Regions from separate parts of the Homo sapiens genome. Here region 1 is linked to region 2. Evidence: promoter capture Hi-C in 16 types of primary human blood cells and fetal thymus (Javierre and others, 2016). All regions are on one chromosome and are shown on one strand. Each heading gives the region's core, a stretch centred on a gene start or on the middle of the fragment in contact. The rest is flanking DNA. Distances are from core to core; before and after follow the strand shown. Region 1 overlaps ZNFX1 (zinc finger NFX1-type containing 1). Region 2 holds the start of CSE1L (chromosome segregation 1 like).

The links. The method cuts DNA at HindIII sites, captures the fragments that hold promoters and counts their contacts. A CHiCAGO score of 5 or more calls a contact.
Region 1: a fragment that was not itself captured here is called in contact with the fragment with the promoter of CSE1L in region 2 in 1 of 17 cell types (activated CD4 T cells); the score reaches 5.4 in activated CD4 T cells.

The regions. Positions count from the first base shown.
Region 1 is chr20:49,243,836-49,248,901 of GRCh38, forward strand. It overlaps ZNFX1 (zinc finger NFX1-type containing 1), which reads right to left. Exons shown (of 14, transcript NM_021035.3): 14 at 2,065-5,066. The coding sequence ends at 3,432. DDX27 (DEAD-box helicase 27) reads left to right here. Exons shown (of 21, transcript NM_017895.8): 21 at 1-238. Among named protein-coding and RNA genes, the nearest start is that of DDX27, 27 kb to the left of the region's middle. The HindIII fragment of the contact is 5,422 bases long and covers 1-5,066 here.
Region 2 is chr20:49,043,810-49,048,652 of GRCh38, forward strand. It overlaps CSE1L (chromosome segregation 1 like), which reads left to right and starts at 2,503. Exons shown (of 25, transcript NM_001316.4): 1 at 2,503-2,614. CSE1L-DT (CSE1L divergent transcript) reads right to left here and starts at 2,247. Exons shown (of 2, transcript NR_110625.1): 1 at 2,051-2,247. RefSeq lists enhancers at 2,126-2,275, 2,826-2,895, 2,861-3,501. The HindIII fragment of the contact is 3,278 bases long and covers 1,894-4,843 here.

The sequences.
Region 1 (5,066 bases), core at 1,397-3,896, 200 kb after region 2:
TGTCGTGGCCTGAAGAAATTCATGGGGGCAGCCCTTAAATCCCTTCCCTGTGGGAAGTCATCCTGGCTGGTCTGTCTTTTCTCCATTTGTTTAAAAAAAAAACAAAAACAAAAAACAACACTTTGGTGTGGTGGTATGGTACGTAGCTATTTTCCTAAGCATGTCTGTCAATCTCCCTTCTTGCTGATTAGCTTTCATATGACTATATTAAATGGAAGTATTTTTGGGAAAAGAGAAACCAATCCAAGTGTATATCTTATTACTATCTCTTCCTCAATGGCAAATGTGCCCACAGTCTACTAGCTTGGTATCACCACATACAGTTGGTATGCATAATCTTTATGCTTGTAGAGGAACAGGGTATGGAGTGAGGAAATTCTTGGTAGAAGTTCTCTTCTAGCCTGGGGAACATAACAAGACCCTGTCTCTTAAAAAAAAACAACAACAACAGAAAAGTTCTCTTCTGTTGATACTCTAGAACTAAGAGCTAAATGATAGCTGAAGAAGATAGCTAAATGATAACTCTTAGTTCTAAAACATCAACAGGGGAGAACTTTAGCATGAATGCCAACCATGCACCAGATATTCTGTGTGCTGAATAGAATCCAGTCAACTCACTGCACTCCTGTGAGGCAGGCAGTGATATCCTCATTTTCCAATAAACAGAGGCTTGGAAAGACTAACTTTCCAGAGTTGCACAGCTGGGAATTCAGGTTTTCAACCAACATCTACTTGAACCCTCACCTTACCTCTTGCTGCTGTGCTGTGGAAATGCTGCTGGAGAAATGGAAGCCCGAAAAGGACAGAAGGAGCCTTGACACCATAAATTAGTTACTTGCTGCAAAAACCAGAGTCTCTTGTCCTCCAGGCTGGAGTGCAATGACACGATCTTGGCTCATTGCAACCTCCACCTCCCGGGTTCAAGCGAATCTCCTGCCTCAGCCTCCCAAATACCGGTGATTACAGGTGCCCGCTACCATGCCTGGCTAATTTTTGTATTTTTAGGAGAGACAGGGTTTCACCATGTTGGCCAGGCTGGTCTTGAACTCCTGACCTCAGGTGATCCACCACCTCAGCCTCCCAAAGTGCTGGGATTACAGGCTTGAACCACTGTACCTGGCCAAAAACCAGTTTTGATCCTGTAAGAACGTCGGTTCTCATCCTTTTCTGACTCAGAATGAGATGAAAGCTGTGGGGCCCCACCTGGAAAACTGTATAGTTTGTTATAATTTCAGGGAGTACTTACCACCCTACCCCCAGCTTAAAAATTATAAGTTATCCAGTAGCACATACCCTAGATACTAAAGAGTGTGTTCAAAGCTATTCATTCAGGCTGCACCTAAGTCACCAACAGAGGGTCCAATTCAGAAAATGATGGCACAACTGTGTGATGGAGTACAGTTCAGACTACTGTCTTACTGGATTTTACAGAAAGTAGGTTATTAGGCTAAAAAAGCCAAGTGCAGAACTGTGTACTTTTTCTTTTCCTTTTCCTTTTTTTGAAGCAGGGTCTCACTCTTGCCCAGGCTGGAGTGCAGTGGCTTCACTGCTCACTGCAACCTCGACCTCCCCAGGCTCAGGTGATCCTCCTACCTCAGCCTTTGGAGTAGCTAGGACTACAAGTGCAAGCAACAACACCTGGCTTATTTTTGTATTTTTTTTTTTGTGGAGATGGTTTCGCCCTGTTGCCCAGGCTGGTCTTGAACTCCTGGGCTCAGGCCATCTGCCCAATGTGGCCTCCCAAAGTGCTGGGATTACAGATGTGAGCCACCATGCCTGGCCTAAGGGATGTGTATTGCATGTGCATAAGTTCTCTCTGGGAGGACTCAGGAAGTTAACAGGGTTTGCCTCTGGAGAAAGAAACTTCAGGTATACCCTTTTGTACAGGCTGAAAAAATGTTCTTTTTACCGTGGGTAAAAATGATTCATTCACCAGCTAAATAAAAATCCTGTATCACAAAAACAAAATCACAGCCTCACTGTAGACAGTGCCTTCCCTGTGCCCGTCTTCACTGTCTTTGGCTGAGTTGCTTCTGAAAATTGAGGATACACGTGGACCACTGATTTTCTCAATCATTGTTTTTAATTGGCTTTATAAGCTAAAGTGCATAGTAAAGACAAAAAAAGGAAATGCATACATAGGAAAGGGACACTTAGAAAGGACCTGAGATACCTAAATGTCTGTTCTAAGGAACACTGGAAGGAGGGAATGCAGATGCAGGCAGCAGGCCTGGGTCTGGCTTCTGGCCTGGGTTTGGAGCCTGCAGAAGCTGCTGGCATGCTAGCTCTACCCAGGGAACAGCTCCAAGAGGGAGTGTTGGGATGAAGGATCACACTTGGGATAGGTGCTGCTGGTACCAAATGTGATTTTAGCTCCATTCAGGGCCCAGGGGTAACCAGCAGTGCCACCAAACCTGTCAGCAGGTAAAGAAACTTCTACCATCCCAAAGTGCAGGTTACAGGAAAGGGGTCACTCCTTAATGACGACCTGGGCCTGCTGCATAAGGCCCATCTTATGCAGCATGTGGGCTGTCCCATCTTCCCCACTCTCAGTGACTATGTAACTGTGTCAGGGTGAGTTGGTGCAGTCTTTTGTCTTATCACGTGCCTCCATCTCCTGGAGGCAGGGTGCCCAAGGAGGGCAGGGAGGGGTTCTTGTGCTCCTTTAAGGGATAAGCAGTTCATAAACAACTATGGGCCTCTGTTTATTATGAGAGTTAGTCTGCAAATTAGGGCCTGGCAATTAGAATCGGTCTGCATCAATGAGCTCATACTCTGTTCCTGGGGAACAATGTAGAATAAACATCTGACCAAGTAAAGACCCAGAGATACCACTAGGTGGCCCTAGGTGGAAGCCCCAAACATGTTCCAGGGAGTCTGTCCACTAATTTGCAGGAGAGAAGGGGTGAGATTTGTTAACTTTGCTCTCAGTTCTGGAGATAAAGTGCTTACTCTAGCGCAGGGGTAAATCTAGAAACAAATGTGGGTGAGCCCTAAAAGTGGATCCTTAAGTAGGTGCTAAGACTAAAAAGAATGATTTTTTTTTTTTTGAGACAGAGTCTTGCTCCTGTCGCCCAGACTGGAGTGCAATGGCATGATCTCAGCTCACTGCAACCTCCGCCTCCTGGGTTTAAGCGATTCTTCTGCCTCAGCCTCCCAAGTAGCTGGGATTACAGGCGCCCGCCATAACGCCCAGCTAATTTTTGTATTTTTAGTAGAGACGGGGTTTCGCCATGTTGGTCAGGCTGGTCTCGAACTCCTGACCTCGTGATCCGCCTGCCTCGGCCTCCCAAAGTGCTGGGATTACAGGCGTAAGCCACTGCGCCCAGCCTAAAAAGGATGATAATAAAAAACAAACTTCAGTTCCTTCATTAGGGAGCTGGCCCCAGTCATTCAGTGGCGAGGGCAAAAGGCAGTGGTGTACCATCTTCCTACATCATCCCCTGGATCTCCTCAAAGTTCATCAGGTTGTTGGCCGTGTCAGACCAGGCAGCATGCTGGGCTCCATCCATTTCAGAAGCAAGCTGGTTGCTTCTTTCCAGAGTATGATTTGTGCCACCAATCACTTCCTTACAGTCAGGACACGTGCCCCTCTCCATGGCTCCCCCACAATCGCCAATCACATAGATATGGCCATTGCGGCACTTGAACCAGTGACCACGAGGATAACCTATGGCACTGACAATCTGCACTCGCTCTTCCTCTGAGATGCCCAGGCCAGAGCAGGGAAGGGTGGCTTTCAGAGCTTCCATCTTTTCCTGCACAAGTTGTTCATCCTCTTGGGTGAACTTACATGTTTTCTCAAGGATATTCTGGACACTATAGACCTCTACTGCTATGCTATCTTTCACCTTCTTCTCTGCTATCTTGTAGCGGGTCAGAAGGTTCACCAGGTATGTGAGCCTCTGGATTTCACTTCGGAGGTCACTTAGTTCCTGGCTAGTGAAGCTCAAGCGCTTCTTGGCCAGCCACTCATGGACCTGTTCTAGTCGAGTCCTCACTCTTTTCTCTTCTAAGACATGCATCTTTTTCAGGGAATCCCACAGGCTGGCCAGGTGGTCATAGAAGCTGATGTAATTCTCAACCAGACCCAGGTCCTTCACTGACAGATTTTTCTGGGCCAGCTTCTCCTTTAACATCAGGAAGTCTTCAGGAAGCAGCTGGTGGAGGAGGCTCTTCCTCTCCAGCAGGGCCTTAAGCCGTTCCTGGCTGGTTGCTATTTCCCCTGCTGAGCCCTGGATCTTTTCCTTGATGATTTCAATCTCTTCTAGCCGCTGTTTTATGCTAGTTCCATACCTCAGGTTTTTGCGGATGGGCACCTGGCAGATAGGGCAGACTTTCAATCTGATGGCGACTTCATCATCCTTCTGTTCATTCATGTAGCGGTCTAGGGCTTGCACCTCAAAGATGTGGCTGCAGTCTTCCAGCTGCACAAAGCGGGCATCAGGCTCATCCTCAAAGCCAAAGAATATTTGGGTGACCTCATCCATGTGGCAGATCCGGCATTTCTTGGGGCATGGCTCCCCACAGAGACCAATGCAGGGGTGGCCACAAACTAGCAGCTTAGTACAAGGCACATAGCATGGGGGTCGGTTGCAGGGCTCAGAGCAGAGTTTGGTGCACTGGTAGTGCTGGCAGCGCCAGACACAGGGTTCCACGCAGGGACTACACAGCTCCCCACATTTCTTCTTGCACTGGCTGTGGACACAGCGGTTCTGACAGGTCCGCTGGCAGGGTGGGCACTCACCAATGCATGGTTCCTGGCACTTGTGTGAGCAGATAAGCAGGCGCTTGCAGGGCTGCTGACAGCGTTCATGGAAACGCCCTTCGAAGCAGCTGTGGCAGGAGCCTGGGCAAGGATGCCCGCAGTCCAAGATAGTGCCACACTTTGTGGTACACTTGACTAGCAGACCACCATACAGGAGGCCTTCCACATGACCACATTTTACCGGTTGACTGTGCCCACACTTGAGTTTTATGGTGACCATTTCTGAACACAGCTGCACACAGTCCTCACCACATGGGTGGCTGCATCTGTGCCCACATCTCAGAGACTTGGAGCAAGG
Region 2 (4,843 bases), core at 1,253-3,752:
GTTCCACCGTCTTCTGACCATCATGGTTTATTTTTATTTTTATTTTATTTATTTATTTATTTTTTTAAGACACAGTCTCGCTGTCACCCAGGCTGGAGTGCAGTGGCTCGATCTCGGCTCACTGCAGCCTCTGCCTCCCAGGTTCAAGCGATTCTCCTGCCTCAGCCTCCTGAGTAGCTGGGACTACAGGCGCATGCCACCACATCTGGCTAATTTTTGTATTTTTGTAGAGACAGGGTTTTACCATGTTGGCCAGGATGGTCTCGATCTCCTGACCTCATGATCCGCCTGCCTCAGCCTTCCAAAGTGCTGGGATTACAGGCATGAGCCACCGTGCCCGGCCTCACCAATGTCTTTCACTCATGTATCTTTCTCCATGGACTTCACTTATTTATATATGGCATTTCATTCAACATGCAACAAACATTTATTAAGCAGCTACTGTGTGCCTAGTGCTGGGGGTACAGCTGTGAATACCATCAATATGGGGCTAGATGTGGTGGCTCACACCTGTAATCCCGGGGCTTTTTTTTTTTTTGAGATGGAGTTTCGCTCTTGTTGCCCAGGCTGGAGTGCAATGGCAAGATCTCAGCTCACCGCAACCTCTGCCTCCCGGGTTCAAACGACTCTCCTGCCTCAGCCTCCCAAGTAGCTGGGATTGCAGACGTGCGCCACCACACCCGGCTAATTTTGTATTTTTAGTAGAGACGGGGTTTCTCCATGTTGGTCAGGTCTCAAACTCCCAATCTCAGGTGATCTGCCTGCCTCGGTCTCCCAAATCACTGGGATTACCGGCGTGAGCCACCATGCCCAGCCCTATCCCAGTGCTTTAGGAGGCGGAGGTGGGAGGATCACTTGAGGCCAGGAGTTTGCCTGGGCAACATAGTGAGAGCTCATCTCTACAAAAAAATTCAAAATTAGCCAGGTGTGGTGGCAGGTGCCTGTAGTCCTAGCTACTCAGGAGGCTGAGGTGGGAGGATTGCTTTAGCCTAGGAGGTCGAGGTTGCAATGAGCTATGATTGTGCCATTGCACTGCAGCCTGGGTGACAGAGCAAGACCCTGCCTCTTAAAAGAAAAAAAAAAAAAAAAAAAAAGCCCTGGCCAGGCGTGGTGGCTCATGCCTGTAATCCCAGCACTTTGGGAGGCCAAGGCTGGCGGATCACAAGGTCAGGAGTTCAAGATCAGCCTGGCCAATATGGTGAAACCCCGTGTCTACTAAAAATACAAAAATCAGCGGGGCATGGTGGCGGGCACCTGTAGTCCCAGTAACTTGGGGGGCTGAGTCAGGAAAATTGCTTGAACCTGGGAGGCAGAGGTTGCAGTGAGCTGTGACAGCACCACTGCACTCCAGCCCTCCAGCCTGGGCGACAGAGCAAGACTCTGTCTTTAAAAAAAAAAAAAAAAAAGAAAAGCCCTTGCTGTATAGAATCCCTTAGGTTATGGATGGGGAGGAGGGCAGGGGTTTAGGAGGGGAGAAGCGGAAGGAGGAACAAAATAAAGAAGAGACAATTAGTTGGAGAGTGATAAATACCATAATGATATCATGGAACTAGGCTTACCAGATCAAACACTGGGCACCCAGTTCAATGTGAATTTCAGATAAGCAATGCATGATTTTTAAGTATAAATATGTCCTACACAGTATTTATACTAGAAAATTATAAATTTTTTTCTAAAATTTACATTGACCTGGGCAGCCTGCATTTTATTTGCTAAACCTGGCAACCCTAATTTGTGTGCTGGGTGGTGGTGAGTGGGCAATTTCAGATAGGCCTCTTTTGTGGAGGTGACATTTGAGCTGGAACCTAAATGTAAAGAAGGAGCCAATCATTCAGGAATCTAGAACATCCCAGCACAGGGAACAGCAAGTATAAATGCTCTAAAGTGGAAATAAGCTTGGAGCTTAGAGGAACAGGAAGAAGGTGGGGTGGCGGAGCTGAGTGAGGGTGAGGAGAGGAGGGAAGCGGAAGGTGATGAGGGCAGGCAGGCTGGCAGGGGCCAGATCCCATATGGTTTGTGGGCTGTAATAAGAGTACCAAAACTTACATACCAGGCCAGGCGCGGTGGCTCACGCCTGGAATCCCAGCATTTTGGGAGGCCAAGGTGTGCGGATCACTTGAGGCCAGGAGTTCGAGACCTGTCTGGCCGTGTCTCCCTCTAAAATAGAAGCTCCAAGAGGGGCAGGAAGTTCTCTTCCGTCTTAGACCCTATGTGCACGACCTTGGATCGATCAACATTGAACACCTCCTACGTGCCAAGCCCTGACATCAAAATGGGTCAGAAGCCAGCAGCCGCTCGCTGAATCTGTGTTCCTCTTTGGAAAACGAGAACCGTGAAGCCTGCTGGCATGGTCAGAGCCAAAGAGCATTGTCACTTGTGAGATCAGCGCAGAAACAGAGCGGGGCCCCGATTGGCCCTTCGAACTTGGGTGGGGCCAGAGCATTCCTGGCCCCGCCCCCTGCAGCGGGCCGCTCGCTCATGCGCTCTGGCCTCAGGCTCGCTGTCGCGCCATTTTGCCGGGGTTTGAATGTGAGGCGGAGCGGCGGCAGGAGCGGGTAGTGCCAGCTACGGTCCGCGGCTGGGGTTCCCTCCTCCGTTTCTGTATCCCCACGAGGTGAGGCGCGGGGCGTGCACGGCCTACCAGAGTGGCTCTTGGGGCCCAGCTGAGGAAGGGATGAGGCGCTCCCGGTACTAACGAGCGCTAGGGAGTGAGAACCGCGCCTCTGGGCGAGAGCGGAATGTGGGCCCGGGGTTCGGGTGGTGCGCTCAGGCAAGGTCTTCGGCTTCCCTAGGGAGCGCTTGCCGCGCCTCGCGGCATCCTAGGTCTCTGGCCCAGGTGCGGCGACCCCAGGGCCTGTGAGGGCTGAGGGCAACTGAGGCGCGGCCTAACGCGAGCCTGCGGATTGCCCGCCCTTTCCTCTCCATCACGGCGCTGATTGGCTGCGCCGCCGCCTCTCCGCTCGGGAAGGCCGCTCCTTATTGGTCGCGCTCGCATGTCCATTCTCTGCGACGGTGGCTGCTAGCCGCGCGAGCTGAGTGTGCGGCGGCGAGGCCTGCCCGGGCGGGGACTGCGGGCGCGTGGAGCTGCGGCTGCCTCGCGTCGTCCCTTGCCCTAACTCTAGTGAAGCCCCCGAACTCACCCTTCTCTAACCTCTGTACTTGTATCCCTGACTGTAAAACGGGCATCGTGATCTCACTTTGCTGAATTGTTTGTGAGAATTCTAGTCGGTACACCCGGGACATAGAAATCCCCTGTAACGCGGGTTGGGGGAGGGTTCCCTCGTTTTGGGAGAAACGCTGTGCTGTGGTGGTTCGGAGCATAGACTTTGGAATTAGATCGCCTGGGTTCATTCCAGACGTAGCCTCTCGTTAGGGGTGTAACTTGAGGCTGGTCACCTCATCTCACTGAGCCTCCATTTCCTTAGCTGCAAAATGGGGTTAATAACAGAATCTACCTCGGAAAGTGGCTTTGAGGATGCGCTGAGTTATTTACCGTGGTTTACAAAGGTTCCCTGGGAGCTGACGGTTGTTTATTCATCTCTCCCACCCATCTTTCTCCTTAGCCAGTGTGGCTTTCTGTTTCTTCCATATTCCAGGGTTATTCCGATTTAAAATTATTTGCACATGCCTTTTGTTTGCTGGGGAAGTACCAACATTTTTGCAAGGCAGGCCGCCTCTCCCAAGTTTCCCTCACCTTAGGCCTCCCCTAACCAACCTCTTCTTTTGTTTTCTTTTTCTTTTTCTTTTCTCTTTTCTTTTTTTTTTTTTTTTTTTTTTTTTTTTGAGAGAGAGAGTCTCGCTCTGCCTCCCAGGCTGGAGTGCAGTGGCGCGATCTCGACTCACTGCAACCTCCGCCTCCCGGATTCAAGCGATTCTCCTGCCTCAGCCTCCCGAATAGCTGAGACTACAGGTCTGAGACTACACGCCACCACACCCGGCTAATTTTTGTATTTTTATTAGAGACGGGGTTTCACCATGTTGATCAGGCTGTCTAATCAACCTGTCTAGGACCTTTCTCCCATGGCTCTCCATCAACATCACCTGGTTTTAGTTACTTCATAGCATTTACTAACACTTACTTATTGCTTACTTGTTATCTTTCTCAACTGCTAGAATGTAAGCTGTTTGAGAGCAAGGACCTTGTCTGTCTTGCTTACTTCTCTCTCCCTGGTGGGTGCCATCCCACCTGTGCTTGCCACATGGTAGATGCACAAGTATTATTCTTCCTTGGAGGCACAGAAGGGGACCCTTTAGTCTTGGATTCCACCAATTGCTCTTTTTCTCACCTTGGGCCCACATAGTCATATCTTTGGCCTTTCTCTGTGTGTGTCTCTCTCTTTTTTTTTTTTTTTTTTGACATGCTTTCAGAGGATCCTAATGGACCTCGTCTCTCCGCTCCTACAACCCTTTATCTTTCACTTCTTACCATCAGTGCAAGGGAAGTCTCTCTCCCCTTCTGATTACTTCTGCTGGTTGGGGTCTGGGACAGGATTGGATGGATGCAAGAGCAGTGCTCTAGTTTTGGAATTAATTTGTTTCTTTATTCATTTAATAACTTTATTGAGCATCCACTTAATCTCTGGGAATATAGTGAAAAAACAAAAATGGACAAGGTCCCTTCCCTTGAGGACCATGTATTCTCGTGGGCGAAAGAAAAAACATTAGATAATTTCAGATAGTGACAGAATTATGTGACAGGTGAAGAAGGCTTTTCTGAGGAGGTGACATTTGGGTAGAGACCAGCCATTAAAAGGTGAGGGGCAGAACATTCCAGGTAGAGGGAATAGAAGGCTCAAGGCTCAAGGACAGGAACCGGCTTGGAATATTGAAATATTTAAGGAAT